3 separate regions of the Homo sapiens genome follow, and regions 1 and 3 are each linked to region 2. Evidence: promoter capture Hi-C in 16 types of primary human blood cells and fetal thymus (Javierre and others, 2016). All regions are on one chromosome and are shown on one strand. The core of a region is centred on a gene start or on the middle of the fragment in contact, and the rest is flanking DNA. Distances in the headings are between cores, read along the strand shown. Region 1 overlaps RABGAP1 (RAB GTPase activating protein 1). Region 2 holds the start of CRB2 (crumbs cell polarity complex component 2). Region 3 overlaps RABGAP1 (RAB GTPase activating protein 1).

The links. Contacts are between HindIII fragments. The CHiCAGO score rates a contact against its expected background, and 5 or more counts as called.
Region 1: a contact is called between a fragment that was not itself captured here and the fragment with the promoter of CRB2 in region 2, in 2 of 17 cell types (activated CD4 T cells and naive CD4 T cells). The highest score is 5.5, in activated CD4 T cells.
Region 3: a fragment that was not itself captured here is called in contact with the fragment with the promoter of CRB2 in region 2 in 1 of 17 cell types (naive B cells); the score reaches 5.7 in naive B cells.

What each region holds. Positions count from the first base shown.
Region 1 is chr9:123,048,385-123,051,635 of GRCh38, reverse strand. The region is part of intron 13 of RABGAP1 (RAB GTPase activating protein 1); the gene reads right to left. It also overlaps a transcript of GPR21 not described here. Among named protein-coding and RNA genes, the nearest start is that of GPR21, 16 kb to the right of the region's middle. The HindIII fragment of the contact is 3,989 bases long and covers 1-3,251 here.
Region 2 is chr9:123,354,713-123,358,194 of GRCh38, reverse strand. CRB2 (crumbs cell polarity complex component 2) reads right to left here and starts at 1,998. Exons shown (of 13, transcript NM_173689.7): 1 at 1,841-1,998. The coding sequence starts at 1,934. RefSeq lists an enhancer at 1-317. The HindIII fragment of the contact is 7,167 bases long and covers 722-3,482 here.
Region 3 is chr9:123,026,436-123,029,917 of GRCh38, reverse strand. The region is part of intron 13 of RABGAP1 (RAB GTPase activating protein 1); the gene reads right to left. It also overlaps the pseudogene RPS25P8. Among named protein-coding and RNA genes, the nearest start is that of GPR21, 5.5 kb to the left of the region's middle. The HindIII fragment of the contact is 903 bases long and covers 1,267-2,169 here.

The sequences.
Region 1 (3,251 bases), core at 700-3,199, 310 kb after region 2:
AGTGTTTATGAAAAACAGAAATAACTAAAGGCCCTAGTAACATGTAGCCAGAGAAATATATGACACTCTTAAACATAAAACCAAGGTGAGGCCAGGCGTGGTGGCTCATGCCTGTAATCCCAGCACTTTGGGAGGTCGAGGCGGGCAGATCACCTAAGGTCGGGAGTTCGAGACCAGTCTGATCAACGTGGAGAAACCCCATCTCTACTAAAAATACAAAATTAGCCAGCCGTGGTGGCACATGCCTGTAATCCCAGCAACTCAGAAGGCTGAGGCAGGAGAAGCCCTTAAACCTGGGAGGCGGAGGTTGCAGTGGGCCAAGATCGCGCCATTGCACTCCAGCCTGGGCAGTAAGAGTGAAACTCCGTCTCAAAAAAAAAAAAAAAAAAAAAAAAAAAAAAAAAAAAAAAAAAAAAAAACCAAGGTGAATAAAATCACAACATGTGGCTCCTCAAAGAAAAGGCACAGTCGCTGAATGCTGGGGGCATGTATCTTAACCATTTCAGATCCTAAAAAAAAAAAAAAAATTGAGTATTCTTTTCAATGTTCTGAGTTTTTTTCTTCAAGGCTGACCACCAGATAGATATATTTTTAGATCACAATATCCTGGCCTTTCACATAACTACCTTCACTAAGTTGTGGTATTAGCATGTTCTAAGACCCTGTCAAAAAAAAGAAAACAAACAAACAAAAAAAACCCTGCTATTGAAACTTTGTATTTCATGGTGGTGAGGACATCTACCACTTTACTCAGTGTCCCCATCAAAAAACAGTTTCTCCTAAAAAATTATACATATTTTTCCCCATGGAAATGATCCAATGTTCATTTTTGCTTCGGCCTTCAGGAGGCTCGGAATCAAATCTGCAGCTCAATCTTACATAATACAGGACCTCATAGCCTGTATATCAGTAATAGGAATTATAGTATATTTGTATCAAACAAATTAAAGCCTCTCAAAGTCAATTACATAGTCAAATCAGTAAGAATTATAGAAATAGGTATCGATTGGTGGGCTCACTTAACACTGACAATACAAAAACATCTTCATCTTAATTTAGCTCTGAAGAATGTAATTATATAAAACAAACACATTTTTACTTGTCCCTACATGACTAGCAACACTGCCCTTTAAGTCAGTATTTTCAACTAGGAACCATGGGACCTCTCTGTGCTGTGATGCTGTTCTTCCACACCAGTGCAACAGCAGGGATTTTAGTGGAAGTTGGATTTGTGTGTAGATATTGCTTTGTGTATTTACCCTGGTGATTTGCTCTTGAAGGCAAAAACCATACTTGCAGTAAAACTGCCACTGATTAACAATAACAATTCAAAACCTGGACCAAAAAGAAATAGTAAACTGATCTCTATACATTTAAATACATGACATATTGTTTAGGTATTCAGTAATTAATGCTTTAAAATTTCTACTCCAAAGCTCCAACACATCACACAGAGCAGACTGGAATTAGATACCCATGAACATGGAGGTAACTAAAGGCATTTCAGAATCTGGTCATAATTGTGTGGAGACTGGAGTTGGACTTTTGACAAAGAATGCAGACGATGGACTTTAGGTGCTCTACTTAGATCACAATGCAACCAACAGAACACAAAGTCTAGGGCCAGGCTGTTCTGTCTCTGGGTACTGCCTCTCCCACTTACTAATTTGTGTGACCTTGGGCAAGTCATTTAACTAATCTGAACCTTAACAAACCTATCTATAAAATCTATGCAATGGTCCCTGCCTCACAGTTTATGAGAAGCAAATGAAATACTGCATGGAAAGCTGGTGGCTTAAGGCCTGGTATATCAGCGGTAGCTCTTTCTCAACAGACTTGAGATTTATGATGCTGGCATATTTCCCACCTTGGGAGAGAAGCCAAGGGACAAAATCTGTATTTGGCAAGTTTTCCTGTTTGGGACTTAGTGCCCTGTCGGGGATCTGCAATTAGACAGTATACAGTTCAGAAATCTCCTGAATGTTATGAACATCACATTTAAACCAAATGAAATTATAAAGAAATCAGGTGGCAGAAAAACTGATACTTGAAACATAAGTGATACAATAAGAGTATTTTGTTTTTTAGCCTATGAACCATACTAATGAAAACACTGTAGAGCTCAATATTAAATACCTTTGCTGATTATCTTTTTTCTTCCAAAATCATTTCTCAGAAGCAAAAATCCATCTAGGTTTCTCTATTATCGTTGTCTAATTTAGTAAGGAGTTCATCCATTTCAAGAAAAATAATATAAACATTCCAAATGACTCTACTCCCTTTACTCTTTTCCCCTCCAAACAACTTACTCCAAACACACAAAACAACAACAACAACAACAACAAAAAACACCATATGCTGTAATCATTGAACTGTCACAGAACCTTTACTACACCAGACTCAATAAGCTGGCTCTAGAAATGTTTGCCAAATAAGCTCCTTTAACATATACTTTAGAATTATATTAGCTGAATGATTATATAAGTATTATGTTCAATCTATACCACACGTTGAAATAGAAAAGCAGATGACTTCCTCAGAAAAGATGGCTCTTTATTTAATGAAATATTTTACTGCTATCACATTGTTTCAATCCAAATATGGCATTATAGTGCCATTCTAAAAATAAATCTAAGTCCCATGTGATATGCAGCCTTTTAGCTATGTTCATTTCCTTTTAGGGCTCAAGTTTCCCACAGGAAAATTATTCAATGTTTGGCAAAACGGTCCCAAATCATGTATAAATAAGACATAAATGCTAACTGCACTGTCAACCTTTTCCTGGTTTGCTATTGTTGATTCTCCTTCACAGCAATCCATCATGGAGAGGCCCAAGAAGCAGGAAATACTCAAGTACTGTTACCTGACAAAAGTGAACACACAAAATATCATTTTGATTTAAGAGGTGGTGATAGTCAAAGGGGGAAGGTAATTTATGGGTGAACTAAGACATAAAATTATTATATGCAAAGTCATATTCCAAACAAATGTTTCTGATAACTGTGATGAACTTCCAAATACTTATTTCATTGTATTATTACCAAGTAAACTGCATATCAAATGCTCTCTTAGTACAGCTTAATACGTACTGTATTGTTTGACTTGTACTATTTGTTTAAAGATTTTGTAAAGCGTTGTATGCTATGGATAAAATCTTCTCAAAATCACCTACTAATAACATGCAACACACAGACACACAGAGGACCAAGTCTCATATTGCTCAAGTTATATTTTTAAATAATCGAATCAAT
Region 2 (3,482 bases), core at 749-3,248:
CCCCCATCCCCTCCAGGATGGAAATTGGTTTTCAAGTGACAAAATCCCCAATCCCTCCCCTCCCGGCAGGCAGTCTAGGGTACCAGCATGCAGAAATGGTCATGCCTGCAGTGTACCCCACCAACTTTTAGGGATCCCCAGGGATGGCGCTCCCAGCACAGAAATGGCAGAGGAAAGGCTGCCCCTGGGCAACCCAGCAGGCCTGATGGGTTGAGTGTACACACCAGTGTCCAGACCCCCCACAGCCTCCATCCACTCTGTGCCTCCAGGTCCCCTGTGAGTGCACACTGAGTGTGAATGCACACATGTCCACATGTGCGTGTTGGGGTGTGCACATTGGTGTGCAGGCACATGCCATGTGTGTAGGTAGGTGCATGTGCTGGTAGATCCACATGTGTCTGTAGCACCTGTCCCTGTGGTGCTGTGTGCCCTTGGGCATGCCACACAGGTGTGCGGAGTGTGGGTGTGTGAGCATCACAGGGCAGGGGACAGAGCACCGATCCACAGACCGGGATCTCACGTGCTTTGTATGCAGAGAACAGAGAGGAGCAGCCACCCCGCCCCCCGCCACCATGCCCCACCCCTCTATGGAGCCCAAGTCGCCTGCCAGCAGAGCCCAGCTCATAAGTCCCCGTCCCTCTCTGAGCCTTGGTTTCCTTCACTGCAAAATGGGGTCCTCATCCTCCCTAGGGCCCCATAGAGAGGATAGGAAATGAAAGCTTTGTGAGTGCGGGAAACATGAGGGTCCCCAGGTGGGACTGGGAGACACTTGGCCCCCACACCCTACAGCCTGTGGAGCTCTGGGGCAGGGAGGGCTCCCCCAGCCTCAGGAGAGCCCAGGCCCTCCTTGGCTCCCTCCCCAGCCTGTGGTGGTGGGGGCAGGGGACTTCCCAGGCCCGGCCCCTGTAACTATAGTAACTAACACCAAGCGTTCCCTTGGACCCCCCAGGAGGAATTCCAGGCTCCGAGAGCTTGGACAAAAGCAAAAAGGGCTTGGCAAATGTGGTCTGGCTTCAGGGAGCCCTTTCAGATTGGCCTTGGAATGCTGGGGAGGGGGCAGCAGGGGACACACACATGTTCCCAAATCCCCAGCCACCCCACAGGGACCCAGAGCATCCCCAGCAGCCCTCAGCACAGGCAGGGCTACCGCACAAATGGAGGGGTGCGGGCAGGCACCCAGCTCCCTGAGTCTCCCTCACGCTTCTCCACTCAGTCCCGAGTTGGGGTCGGCTGTGCACATCCCACACCCCTCATGTTGAGAGCAAAGACCTAGTTCAACCCTGGACAACCTACACCCCACAGCGTGTGCTAGGACACAGCTCACCACACCCAACTCCTCGGACACAACTCACGGCTCACCCCAGACAGCTCATCCACCTCCCAACTCTAACACACCCACAACCTGTGCCCCACAACCCAGCATGCGACACAGAACAAGCTCTGGGGTGAGGCTTATGCCACCTGCAACTCCCCAAACTCAGCCCCTAGAAACCCAGAAGTCCCCCAGCCCTTTACAGGATGCAACACAGCACCTCCCAAAACACGCACCCCATCCCTCACCCGCATCAGCTCCCCCAAATCATGCCCAGCCCCCGATCCCCCAACCCCGAAACTTACAACCCCCCTCAACATGAAACAGCCCCGAGCCTCAGAACACACTCACCTCCGTGGAGCCCCACAGAGTCTGGGGGCCACAGCCGCGCACTCCTGTGCACCCCACAGCTCAGGCCTGCACCCACGCGGACCAGCCCACCCACCACCCCAGCAGCCAAGGCTTGGGGTATCTGTCTTGGGGGACAGACCCTCTCCCAGGCCCCTCCAGACATGGGCCCCAACTCACCAGCCAGGAGGGAAAGGGCAGGGGCCCAGAGCAGCAGTAGCAGGACAGAGGCCAGGGCCTGGGGGTCCGGGGTCCCAGGCCTGGCCAGCGCCATGGCAGCCCGCTCTGCGCTCTGCTCGGCTGCTGTGAGAACGGGAGGGCGGCCTGGCTGGCTCCGCACCCCCCTCGTCCCTCCAACCAGCACTAATGCTGTGGACAGAGGCCCAGCCCCTCCCTCCCCTCCCCGCCACCGCCTCCTCCTCCCACCCAGGCCTCCTGGGCTGCTCCACCTCGTGGACGTCCCTAGACATCAGCCCCAAGTCCTCAAGCCCCCTAGCCTGTGGGGCTGACCTGGTCTTGGCACCCACTGGTTTCTCCCTCCTGACCCTCTGCCCCACTCTCCTCCCACCTCTCAGGTCAGCCTCCTTGGAGAAATTTCTGTCCTTGGAGAGGGGGCTGTTCAGGACTCTCGTCTCACCAGGTGATGCCAGCTACTCCCAAGTCCTTAGTTATCCCCTCTCCTGGATCCCCCTCCCCACCTCTCCAGCCCGGGCCTCTCTCCCAAGCCCAGGCCTTCGAGTCCAGTCGCCTCCCAGACCCTGTCTCTGCTGGGAAGCTGCAGCCCCTCCCACCCAGCTCGTCCCCCCACCTGCTGCTCCCCAGTGCTCCCATCGGAGCCAAGGCACCTCCCATCGGGCAGCCCAACGCCCCCTCCCCACTCCCCCCTCCCCACACTCGGTCAGCCCCTAGCTCCTGGCCATGCCACCTTCTCAGTGTCTCCTGCTGTCCCCACCCCGTCCCACCCGACCACACACAGCTCCTCCCACCATCGGCCTCAGGATCAGCTCCCTGCAGGGCACCTCACCCCTGCACCACGGTGGTCCCTGCCTCCCTTTACCCTCTCCACCCTTCACCAGCCAAACTGAACCTTTCCCAGCTTTCTTCCACTTGACCTTGATCTCTGGCTCTGCTGTTTGCAACTCCAGCGACCTCACTGCAATCCAAAGCAGCCCATTCTACTGAAAGGCAGCTCTAACCAAGCAAGCATTGCTCTCCCCTGCCAGGAAGTCCTTCTTGTTGTCTAACCTTATAGTCTCCTGCTGCACTCGATGTTTGCTTGCTCTCCAGCTGGCCTCTTGTTGGGGTGGACAGGAGGAGCTCTTCAGGGGGACCTGGTTCAGGAAGCCAGGTCATCTCAGAGACACTACAACATAGAACAACATTCCTTTCTTCTACCACCCTCAGCCCCAGTGGGGAGAGAATCCTCTTGCTGAAGGGACTTTCCTGAAATGAGCCACCGGCCCCTGCCAATACATGCCTGTTTGTCCCTATTCAGTAACCGTGGATACAGCCCACGCAGGCCCTGGGCTCTGGGATGTGTCCCTGACACGGGAGGACACAGCCTGGAAAGACAGCAGGAGCCATTGAGGGAGGTCCAGATGAGCTAGAGGGATGGGCAAGGGTCCCCTGCAGTGCAGGGGAGGGAGCAGTGGGCACCACACAGGCCCTGGCCGACCCTCTAGCCCGGGGCAAGTGCCACAGCCCTGGGTCCCCAGGGACCAAAGGAGGGAACCCAAAAAGGCCTGGGTAGACTCCTTATCCACTGCCCCTGCCCCATCCCTGCCCTTGAGGCCTGTTCTCTCCAGGGCAGGGATTGCCCCTT
Region 3 (3,482 bases), core at 469-2,968, 330 kb after region 2:
TAACTACTTGTAGATGATAAATTATCTCAGTTCTTCAAATTCCTAAGCTTCACCTCTGGGCATTAGTGTCAACTACCACTTATTATTTGGTAAAAATGAGCTTCACTTTTTGTCTGACATCTTAGCAAGGCTGCAGTGTTCGCCACTGCTCTCCGAGCTTCACGATGCCACCCAAGGACTACAAGAAGAAGACAGACACTGGAAAGTCAGCCAAGAAAGACAAAGACCCAGTGAACAAACCCGGGGGCAAGGCCAAAAAGAAGAAATGGTCCAAAGGCAAAGTTAGGGACAAGCTCAATACCTTGTCTTGTTTGACAAAGCTACATATGACAAACTCTGTAAGGAAGTTCCCAACTATAAACTTATAACTCCAGTTGTGGTCTCTAAGAGACTGAAGATTTGAGGTTCCCTGGCCAGGGCAGCCCTTCTGGAGCTCCTTAGTAAAGGACTTATCAAACTGGTTTCAAAGCACAGAGCTCAAGTAATTTACACCAGAAATACCAAGGGCAGAGATGCTCCAGCTGCTGGTGAAGATGCATGAACAGGTCCAAGCAACTCTACATTTGGAAAAATAAAACTTTATTAAGTAAAAAAAAAAAATGAGCTTTAAACATTGATTAATTAACATATTATTTTAGTGCAGCTGATGTGAGTTTATTTATGTAACTGTCATTCCAAAAATGATTTGAGATACTTTGACTCATCTTTTATTCCTCCCTCGCCCTCATCTCCCACATTCATTCAGTCATCAAGTGAGTGCCAAGGACTCTACCTCTGAAATCCTCTTAAATAGCATCTTTTTCCCCATCCCTTTGCCACTACACCCCAATCCAAGTTGAAATTATCTCTTGCCTGAATTATTAACGGGTCTCGCTGCAATTATTCTTACTCCATGCTAGCCCAAGTAACAGAGTGATCTTTCTAAGCCTGATAATACAGATAATAAGCAAAAAATATATATAATATTAAGTTATTTACACTTAGTATGGACTATGGATTATACTAAGAATTTTCACACATTAATTCTAACAACTCTACAACTATTATTATTCCATTTTACAGATAAGGAAACCAAAGCGTATGAATGTTAAATTGCCCAATTTCAATGGCTAGAATACAGCAGAACTAGGATCTGAATTAAGACAATTTGCCTTTAGATGGAAACCACTTTGCATACTGCCTTATAAACCGGAATATATAACCTGCCTGCTTAAAATGCTTCATTCGCTTCTGTTGCCCAAAACCTTAAATATGCCTTCTGAAGCTTTCAAAGATCTGTTCCCTATCTACCACCTCTCTGGTCTTACCTCCATTCACACTCTATGGAACTGCCTTGAGTACACGCTGTTCTCTCTGACTTTTAAGACCACATCTGTTATGCAGCACCCTATCCCACCCCAACTATCCAACCCCTGGCTAATTTCTGAGCAAGAGACCTTTTAGAACACTTAGGTGAGAAATCCTTCATGTCATATGCAGTACAGCAGTATATATTTTTTCTTCTACAACTCCCATGCAACTTTATGATTGTTTATAGTTAACTGTCTATTTCCTTCATTAGACTGCAGACTTCCTGAAACCAGTGAACAAGTTTATTTTATTTATGGGCATATCCATGAGGCCTACCACAGGGTTGGCACAGGGTAGGCATTCAAAAGGTATTTTTTATTGAATAAACAATGAATGTCCAATGAAACAAAAGGCAATTCTGCTTCTAAGTTGAAAGATCTTTCAAGTAAAACCCCAGCATGGTAACTGTTTAACTCACCTATAATTATTAGGTCGAGGCATATGAAATTGCCTATTTGTGGGTCAAAAACTGTCAAATAGCAATTTTAACATGGACAAACCAAATATGTTTCCAGTCTTATAATTCAGGAAACCTTTAGAACTCCCAGCAAGTATGACTTACATAAACTCACACAAAGGAAAATAACTTCACAGGGATAAGATATAGGGCTTAAAATTATGTTCACAAGTAATAATTTAGAGGGACCTACTGTAGCAATTGCTGTATGACAGCAGACAATACAGTTCTAACATCCACCAGCCACTATTTTCATGTAGGACAAGGCAGCAAGAGTGCTCAGTTGTGAAAAAATGGAATTATGGCCTATTTTGGAGGGCAGGACTCAAACACACTGTCTGATTTTCCAGAATGTCAAAGCTTAAGGAAAAATCAACAGACTACCTCAGCTACCTCAGTTCAGAGAAGAGGAAATGAAGCGGCAGAACTGAAACTAGTACCCAGGCTTCCTCCTCCATGGCCAACATTCTTTTTTGCTAAATCGATCTCCTTTTATTGTTGGGTATCCACAGGCATATGCTTATGATTAAATATTATTCAATAATACAAACCTACCAGACAGAAGTTGTTAATTAAAAAGCAAAACAATCTGCGTAGTAATAACATAATAATTGAATACATTATTTTTTCCAGACTAGCAAAATGTGGCTGGGCCTCCAGGGATTCCTTTCAACAATTAGAAATGTAAATATTGGTTGGCAGGGCACGGTGGCTCACGCCTGTAATCCCAGCACTTTGGAAGGCCAAGCTGGGGGGATCACAAGGTCAAGAGATCGAGGCCATCCTGGCCAACATGGTGAAACCCCATCTCTACTAAAAATACAAAAATTAGCTGGGCATGGTGGCACATGCCTGTAGTCCCAGCTACTCGGGAGGCTGTGACAGGAGAATCACTGAACCTGGGAGGCGGAAGTTCCAGTGAGCCAAGATCGTGCCACTGCACTCCAGCCTGGCAACAGAGCGAGAGAGCGAGAGTCCGTCTCAAAAAAAAAAAAAAAAAAAGAAAAGAAAGAAAGAAATGTAAATATTGGTTATTTGAGCTTGCTACTAGTTTGCTTCTGGATAAAAGCTTGCTAAAGATTCTTATCACTGAAGTTGAAACTAGAGAAAATGATGCAGATAAGTTTAAGAAAAGATAAGCAAGGCCAAGTGGATGGAAGGAAAGAAAAACATCAGAATAGGTTGCTATTTCATTATTCTCTCGTTATTAAAATGATCTACTGAAGAAGTAGTTTGCTGTAAATTTTTGCTACTAAGCACTGAATTATAAGAAGCTAAGCCACCAACACAAAAGGTAAAAAATAACCATCAGAAAGAAGGGACAGAAGAGGATTCTGGAAGCCGGGAACAAGAAAGTGCCTTTGTTTCCCCTTCATTTTCAACTCCAACTTATTTGATTCACAAGATCCAAACAGCTGTAAGAATTACAGGCAACTGGAGGTAAGAGAAGCCATGAGAGTCTCTGTGGATTACTTATTAAGCTTTCTTCCCTCTGAGTCTGACAAGTTCTACCTAGAGGCCAGGGTTGAGGAGCTCTTAATCAAACACCAGAAGACAAAGACTACCAGGGGTGCTTGGTCTATAAAAATTTATTCCATGAAGCCAAGGGTAGTAGTTCAATATAAGAAGTCTATCACATGTTGATAGATTATGTAACTTATTCCATTAACAAATT